Regions from separate parts of the Homo sapiens genome. Here all the other regions are linked to region 2. The links are contacts of gene promoters, found by promoter capture Hi-C in blood cells and fetal thymus (Javierre and others, 2016). All regions are on one chromosome and are shown on one strand. Each heading gives the region's core, a stretch centred on a gene start or on the middle of the fragment in contact. The rest is flanking DNA. Distances are from core to core; before and after follow the strand shown.

Region 1 (2,700 bases), core at 75-2,574, 37 kb before region 2:
CCCAGCTACTCGGAGGCCAAGGCAGGAGAATTGCTTGAACCAGGTAGGCAGAGGTTGCAGTGAACCGAGATTGCGCCACTGCACTCCAGCCTGGGCGACAGAGCGAGACTCCATCTCAAAAAAATAAAAAATAAAAAACAATTTTAACCCCCCTAAATTCAGATGTATGGGCCCAAGTAAAAACAAACAGTACATCATTACATCTGAATCTCTTCACAGCTGTGCCTCCAGGTGACACAAGTCTGAACCCACTGGCATTTCCTACCCTGATGTTTAAGGCATTGGCTTTCACAACAAGCTGGCCCTAGCAAAGCAATTTACTTGCAAGGAAGTTTGTCTTACAATTGCTACTGCTCCTGAGAATAAATTTGTCACATGTGGCTACTGCAGGTATCTATGTGTGTTATTCGAAGGCCATTCAAAGCTCACCATTGTAAAGCACAAATCCTGTTGTTTGAAGGAGCACCGGAAATATTAAAGGTGGCCATACATAATAGCACAAATAAGAAGTTACCTGTGGCTTTCTTCAAGCTGTTTCGAGGCCGAGCCGGCGTGGGGCGGAGGGTCTTCACGGGGTCTTTGGGACCTTCTTGGCAATCTCCCCCTCTAAAGCCAGGACAGCACCTCCATTCCAACTGTGTCACTGTCTTATACCTAGTGACATATCTAGGTCTGAAGTTCACTCGATACCTGTGGACAGAAGGGATGGCATCTCTCTTTACTGGCTGCCGTTACAAGCAACTTCCGGCGCTAGACCCAAATAAAGAGGACTCAGGGCATGCAGGACCCTGCCTGCTCTCCAGGCTGGCCCAGAGGGGATGTTGGTCTCCTCAGTCCAGATCTGACTGGGGGGTTCAGCCTAACTCAGATCAGCCTCAGGAAGGCAGGGGCTCCCCAATCCTCCACCTGCCCTGAGCACCCGTTTCCCAGCAAGGGGAACACACAGCTTAGAAAATCTCCACCAAGACTCCCATTTGAGAAGGATACTTTTCAGCCCCCAAACTGAGCTTTTGTTTCACCAAACTTCTGTTCTACAATTCAGTTTGTGGGGATTTGTTTCAGGTGTCACTAGAGATTGTTTTGTTTTGTGTTTTAAAGAAATATTCCTGGCCGGGCACAGTGGCTCATGCCTGTAATCCCAGCACTTTGGGAGGCTGAGGCCAGCAGATCACTTGAGGCCAGGAGTTCGAGACTAGCCTGGCTAACATGGTGAAATCTAGTCTCTACAAAAAATACGAAACTTAGCCAGGTGTTGTGGCGCATGCCTGTAGTCCCAGCTACCGCTGAGGCACGAGAATTGTTTGAATCCAGAAGGCGGAGGTTGCAGTGAGCTGAGATCACGCCATTGCACTCCAGCCTGGGAGACACAGCGAGACTGTCTCAAAAAAAAGAAAAAGAGGCTGGGCGCGGTGGCTCACGCCTGTAATCTGAGCACTTTGGGAGGCCGAGGCAGGCGGATCACGAGGTCAGGAGATCGAGACCATCCTGGCTAACACGGTGAAACCCCGTCTCTACTAAAAATACAAAAACATTAGCCGGGCGTGATGGCGTGCGCCTGTAGTCCCAGCTCCTTGGGAGGCTGAGGCAGGAGAATGGCGTGAACCCGGGAGGTGGAGCTTGCAGTGAGCCGAGATCGCGCCACTGCACTCCAGCCTGGGTGACAGAGCAAGACTCCAACTCAAAAAAAATAAAAAGAAAGAAAGAAACATCCCTGGCACCCTGCTCTCCATCATGTCTGTGTGTTTACCGCTGCACCTCCCTTTCCTGATGCTAGCAAAGGTAGCCACCAGCTTTTGCAGATGGCAGCTCACACTATTTGTGTCCACTTTTTACAAAGATGCCCTGGTTCATACTGTCAATGACAGAAATCAGGAAGCAGAATTGGAAGCACTCAAAAAGTCCTGTTGACAGTGCACATCCCCTCATGCCCTGGAATATCACACAGAGAGCTTTGCAGTGAGCTGGAAAGTCCTCCAGACTCAAGGCCGGGCCTGGGCCCACAACAGACTTTGACAGCCCTGCAGTCCCGGGCTCACCAGGGAAGGAGCCAGGAGTTCAGCCCCCGCAGCGGCCCCTGCTCACAGCACAGGCAAAAGCCACAGCCACACAGGATGGGGCCTCCCTACTTCAGCCCAATTGTGATTTCCTGCCTTGCAAATCATCTCTCTTGAAGCTCTTCAGCTCCTCTTCATTTCTTACACCAGCACCAGCAGCTGGCCTTCTTCTTGAGCCAATTCCCAGAAAGCAATAGGCTGAGTGTCACTTTTTCAGGGTTGCTGAGAGCTGCCCATGGGGGGAGGCGGGACAATAGCAGCAGCGGGGTTACCCAGCAAAGCAACTCCCTCCCAAGCACCAGCCCTGTGGCAGGTGGACTTCAAAGTTACCTCCCTGAGGAAAGCACAAATCATGTGCTGGACCTTTGACATCCTCCCCGAGGGTCACACACTGACAATTACACTCTGGGTATAGGATCCACCCCGCTGGGACTGGCTAGGCACCCTGCAGAATCCCAAGAGGGCCCTGCCGACAGCTAGGACCCGCCAAGCCCATTAGACCTCCTAGCACCTTCCACTGTCCCTGTTTCCTTTGGTTTTTGTTGTGTTTTTTGTTTTGTAGAGATAAGTATCACTTGGTCGCCCAGGCTGGAGTGCAGTGGTACAATCATGGTACACTGCAACCTCAAACTCCTGGGCTCAAGTG
Region 2 (2,700 bases), core at 12-2,511:
CCAATTAGATTCAGCTGCCTTATGTTACAAACAAACATTGAAAGGGAGAAAACAGAAGTGGGAGTGGGAGCTTTGTTCATCCTCTCCTACGCCCCCGCGACCCCACACTCCCGAGGCGCGCGCATCCTCCCCACTCACTCGGGCAGCACCCACTCCCTAAATAGCCCAGCGTGGCCGGTGCCCCGCGAGCGCTCGGAGCGCTTTTCCGCTGCGGGCTTTTCACCGGATCTGGAAGGGATTTACCGGAGGGACTGGAGCCCAGCGCAGCAACCCCACCCCACCCCCACCGCCCCGGCCCGGGCGCGCCCCGCCCGCTCCCCGGCTCCAGGACTTACACCAGCGCCGACGGACAGGGCATCTGGTTCCAGGCACAGTTGTACTGAGCCTGAATAAAACTCTCACTTCCCTCCAGCACGGAGCAGCTCACATTCTTGTTCACGATGTAGGCGCACCAGTTCCTGGGGTGCAGGAGAGAGAGGGAGAGGGGCACGGGGTAAACCCGGAGAACAATGAGGCCAGGGGAGAGGGGACTGCGGCACCAGACCGAGCGAGGGTCGGGGGGGCCCGTCGCCCTCTGCGGAGGCGGGAGCTTCACCGAGCAGACGCCGGAGGGTGCCCGGGTGCGCCTCTGGAGAGCGCGCGCCTGGACCCGACCAAGACGGGAAAGAAAAGCACCCATGGTCCCAGGGGCTCATGGAATTCCTGGGAGTCGTTTTCGGATCGCCCGGGTCTGCGGGACGCTCTCTGCGCCCACGCCCCCGGAGTCAGCTCTGCCTGAGGCGCCGGCTGCGGAGCGCGCGGTCCCCCGCAGAGGGAGCCGCCCGGGGAAGTCCAAGGGAGGCCCCCGGCTGCCGCTCGTCGTCTTTGGCAGGGCAGCTCTGGGGCTCAACTGGGGGCCGGGGAGGGGTAGGCGGTTTGGGGCCAGCCAAGGGGCGCGCACTTACTTGTTCCTGGCGCTGGGCCGCGCGGGATACCCGGGCTGCGGGCCGGCGTGGCACAGCCCCGCGCCAACCAGGGCCAGCAGCGCCAGCGCCCAGCGCCAGGGCACGCGGGGCCAGGGCCGTCTGGGCTGCCACATCCCGCGCGCAGCGGGCGCGCCCCGCCTGCCCGGGTCCGGAGCGCGGCGGATCGGGGCACCGGCCACAAGGCTGCCGGCGGCCAGGGCGCCGCCCGCGAAGGCAAGAGGCTCGGGCGCTTCGCGGCGCTCCAACCAGTGCTCCGCGGCCGCCCCCTCCGGCTTCTCGTTCCTACTTCTCCTTCTGCAGCCCCGTGCGCCCTGCGCTTCTCCCCGGTCCCTCAATGACGCACAGGTCCCCCCGGGTGCCGCCCTCTTTATTTCACTTCCCTCTCCGAAACGTGACTCTCCCCCCACCAAGTCTCCCCGTCTCCAGTCCCTTCGCTTCTCGGCAGGGGGCTCGGGGTGGAGGGGCGAAAGGGTTTGGGATAAGGGTCTACGTTACAGCATTTCCAATGACTCATTCCTTTGGTCTCTTCCCAGATGCCGAGCGACTCCGCCTCCCACCTTCCGACAGGCTCGCTCCCGGCCCCCCGGGACGCGGCCGCCGTCGGCGAGTCTGGCCGTCCTCGCGTCGTGCCTGGGTGCCAGCCTCCCGGGGCGAATGAGGGACATGTTTATCAGTCCCGCGGGGAGAGGAGTGGGGGCTCGACTCGAATTTCCTCCTCGGGCAAGACAGGGCCGTTCCCCCACCAGCTCCATGGACCTAGAGAGTCCAGGAGGAAACGAACGCTGGTTCTTTCTTTGCCCAACTCTGCCTTAGGCACCATCTGACAGTTTCCGAGGCCACGCGGGGGGCGGCAGGACAGGACAAGCCACAGCCCCGCCAATTCCCAGAGGCTGCTGCAGCTCAGCGTCCGGCTCTATCACTTACTGCAATTCTCCTCCAATTCTTGAAAGGTGATCTCACAGCCTCTGCTTCTGAGGTCCCACTGTGAACTTTCTTTTTCTATTGAAACTAAGGCATTTACTCACGTTTGCTTCTTAACAGTTCAGGCACTGCTAGACATCCGTCTTAAACTTTCTTGTATGTTTTCTGCCTGTTGTTGAGTTACACTAATCTCTACCGATGTCTTTTTGGGATGAAGTACCAGAATGTTAAGTAAAATCACCACCCAAGTGTTGTATTCTAAGGGGTGTTGGAGAGAGCTGTGTGTTTGAGATGACCTGCTGCATCTAATCAATGTACAGGGTCGTGAGTGGCGTGGTTACCAGACTCCACAGATAAAACTGTGGCCTCTGTGAGCTAACCAGACGCTGTTGGCCATGACTCGTTAAGTGAATAAAGCTTTGCTATGGGCCAGGCGGGGTGGCTCACGCCTGTAATCCCAGCACTTTGGGAGGTCGAGGCGGGTGGATCACCTGACGTCGGGAGTTCAAGACCAGCCTGACCAACATGGAGAAACCCCGTCTCTACTAAAAGTACAAAAAAAAAAAAAAAATTTGCCGGGCACGGTGGCACATGCCTGTAATCCCAGCTACTTGGGAGGCTGAGGCAGGAGAATCGCTTGAACCAGAGAGATGGAGGTTGCAGTGAGCCGGGATCTCACCACTGCACTCCAGCCTGGGCAAAAAGAGTGAAAATCTGTCGCAAAAAATAAAAAATAAAAACGTTTGCTATGTTCCTACTTTACTAAATGAAGCCATTGGTCTATTTTGTTTCTAATATTCTTTGATGGTGTTGT
Region 3 (2,700 bases), core at 111-2,610, 41 kb after region 2:
CCTTAGAGCACTTTGAAATGATAACCCACTGCCATATGGTCTCTATTGTTTTTGCTGAGAAGCTGTTAATCTTATTGGGGCTGTCTTTGTAAGAGATGTGTATTATACTTTTATTCCTGCTGCTTTCAAGATTTTTTCCTTGTCTTTGACTTTCAGAATTTGATGTGTCTATCTGTTGGTCTCTTTGTGGTCATCCTGCTTGAAATTTGTTCAGCTTCCTGGATGTATAGATTATTGTATTCTAATAGTTTTCAGCCATTATGTATTTGAATATTTTTCCTACCTTCTGTGTCATTAAGTGCACATTGCTGCACTTAATGGTGTTCCACATTTCTCTGAGGCTCTATTTTCTTCATTGCCTTTTCTCTCTGTTTTTACATAATCTCTACAATCTGTCTTCAAATTCACCTATTCTCTCTTCTGCCAGTTCAAACCTACTGTTAAGCCCCCTGGTGAATTTTAAAATTTCAGTTATTGCACTTTCTAACTCCAGAATTGCCACATGGTTCTTTAAACATTTCTCTCTCTCTCTATATATATATATCTCAATTATATATACACACACACATAATTTCAACTTTTATTTTAGATATACGGGGTACACATGTGTGGGTTTGTTACATGGGTATATTGCACCCAGGTAGCGAGCACAGTACCCAATAGGTAGTTTTTCAACCCACTCCCACCTCCTCACCCCAGCAGTCCACAGTGTCTATTGTTCCCATGTTTATGTCCATGTGTGCTCAATGTTGAACACCCCCTTATAAGTGAGAACATGCGGTATTTGGTTTTCTGTTCCTGTTAGTTTGCTTAGGAGATATTCTTTATTTGATGAGACACTGTCATAATGTTTACTTCTTTAATCTTTTGTTTAGTTCTGTGAATATATTTATTTATAATGGGTACTTTAATTTTTGGTTAAATCTGACATCTGATCACTCTCACAGGCAGTTTTTGCTGCCTGCTTTATTTCCAGTGTATGAGTCACACTGTTTCTTTGCATGCCTCATACATTTTTGTTGGAAACTGGACATTTTAAATAACATACTGTAGTTACTCTACTAGTTCACCTCCCTCTGGTTTGGTTATTATTATTTGCTTAAGCTTAGTGCCTGGATGGATTATTTTAGTGAAGTCTATCCTTCCCTAATCCCAACAGCGTTGTTTCTCAAGTTCTTCCTCAGGGAGGCACAGCTTTTGGTATGCCCCAGAAATCCTGCGTACTCTCGCGCACTTTTTCCTCTTGACCATATACCCTGTTGTTCAACTCCACTAATTGCTGGCTTACTGTTCTATTGTTTACACTAGTGTAGTCTTTGCAGTCTCACCCTTAAAAGCAGCCTGCCCTGAATCCTTTCTCTCAGGGTGTACTGTCTATCCTGCACTTAACTTTCAAAATATTCTTTCTCCTTTACAATAAATTACTCTATGTTGCACTTCTTTTGCTGTGTGTCTCGAGCTCTCTAGTTTAAACTTCTCATGCTCTTTTTTTAAAAGTCAGTTCCTTTGGAAAGAGATTAAGAGCTACCTGTTTTGTTTTCATCCTACCTCATTTGCAGGCAAAAATCTCTGAGCCAGGGATCTGGAGCTAGAGGTGGGGACAATGGCAAGCTTGAGTTGGCATTCTAGCTCTAGAAGCTGAGTGCAATGGAAGGGGGCAGTAGCCTGAGATCCTCTTGGCTTGCTTTTCCTGGGGTAGAATCCTACTTCACGAGCCAGAGAGTTATCAAGGCCCCAGCAATCTCAGCACATGTGTTCAAGGTTTTGTGGCCTGGTGGGGAGAAGACGGCTCTCACCTGGCCACACTGACCCAGGACTTAGTGCTAGCAAAAGGCAGTTGAAGGCAGGACAAGAATCACTACAGTCTCGCTCCTTTCGGGAAAAAAATTTCTGGCTGGGAGATGGTGGGATAAGGAACCCAGCGTTTTTGGCTGCGTTAGTCTGCTTGCTGAGCTTGGAGGTGGAAGTGAGTAGTCAGTCTTGGTTCAAACTACCACAGATTCTCATCTTCCTTACTGAATTTTTGTAAATGTTCTTGAATAGATGTTTCTTCATTGCCATTTGTCCTCAGGACCATTTCCAGAAGTTTTAAATGGTTGTTTTTAATATTTTTCACCAGTTTCACAGTATGAAAATTAAACATTCAATTTTTTTACTAAAATGTATTATTTGAAAATTCTATACTAAAAATACAATGGAATTAACCCCATCAATTTCATAATGACTATAAAGTAATCAAGTCACAGAGCCAAAGTATAGACAGTTTAGAAGACTGAACTTTCCTTAGCACTAATATTTAACAATAGGAGCCAATTTCACTTAAAATAATCTGAATGTTATATATGCAACAAATTTTAGTCTCTGTAAAGAATCTTATACCAAAAACCCTATAAAAATGTTAAGTAAATTGAGCCTATTTTTACCATAGGCCTGGCCAAATGTACACATGAAAACTGATGAACGTAATGTGCAAAAAGGCTTGGAGAGAGTTTTATTTCAGTTACTTCAAAATACAAGTAGGCTATTATTTTCCTTTGGAAGAAGAAACCAGAAAAAAAACTTCCTGATTGTAACATTGTGACAAATTTCAGATTATATAACACATAACACAGGATAAATGGCTGTAGCATTAATTTTTTTCTCCAGTTACATTCCTTTATACTAAAAGACTAGTATTAAATCTTAGAAGAAAATTTCAAT

The links. Contacts are between HindIII fragments. The CHiCAGO score rates a contact against its expected background, and 5 or more counts as called.
Region 1: a contact is called between a fragment that was not itself captured here and the fragment with the promoter of EMILIN2 in region 2, in 1 of 17 cell types (monocytes). The highest score is 7.2, in monocytes.
Region 3: a fragment that was not itself captured here is called in contact with the fragment with the promoter of EMILIN2 in region 2 in 1 of 17 cell types (monocytes); the score reaches 9.2 in monocytes.

Annotation. Positions count from the first base shown.
Region 1 is chr18:2,882,954-2,885,653 of GRCh38, reverse strand. It overlaps EMILIN2 (elastin microfibril interfacer 2), which reads right to left. Exons shown (of 8, transcript NM_032048.3): 3 at 515-690. Among named protein-coding and RNA genes, the nearest start is that of EMILIN2, 37 kb to the right of the region's middle. The HindIII fragment of the contact is 6,579 bases long and covers 1-2,700 here.
Region 2 is chr18:2,845,567-2,848,266 of GRCh38, reverse strand. It overlaps EMILIN2 (elastin microfibril interfacer 2), which reads right to left and starts at 1,261. Exons shown (of 8, transcript NM_032048.3): 1 at 945-1,261; 2 at 336-458. The coding sequence starts at 1,078. RefSeq lists silencers at 284-373, 994-1,043. The HindIII fragment of the contact is 11,570 bases long and covers 1-2,305 here.
Region 3 is chr18:2,804,781-2,807,480 of GRCh38, reverse strand. SMCHD1 (structural maintenance of chromosomes flexible hinge domain containing 1) reads right to left here. Exons shown (of 48, transcript NM_015295.3): 48 at 2,464-2,700. Among named protein-coding and RNA genes, the nearest start is that of EMILIN2, 41 kb to the left of the region's middle. The HindIII fragment of the contact is 507 bases long and covers 1,107-1,613 here.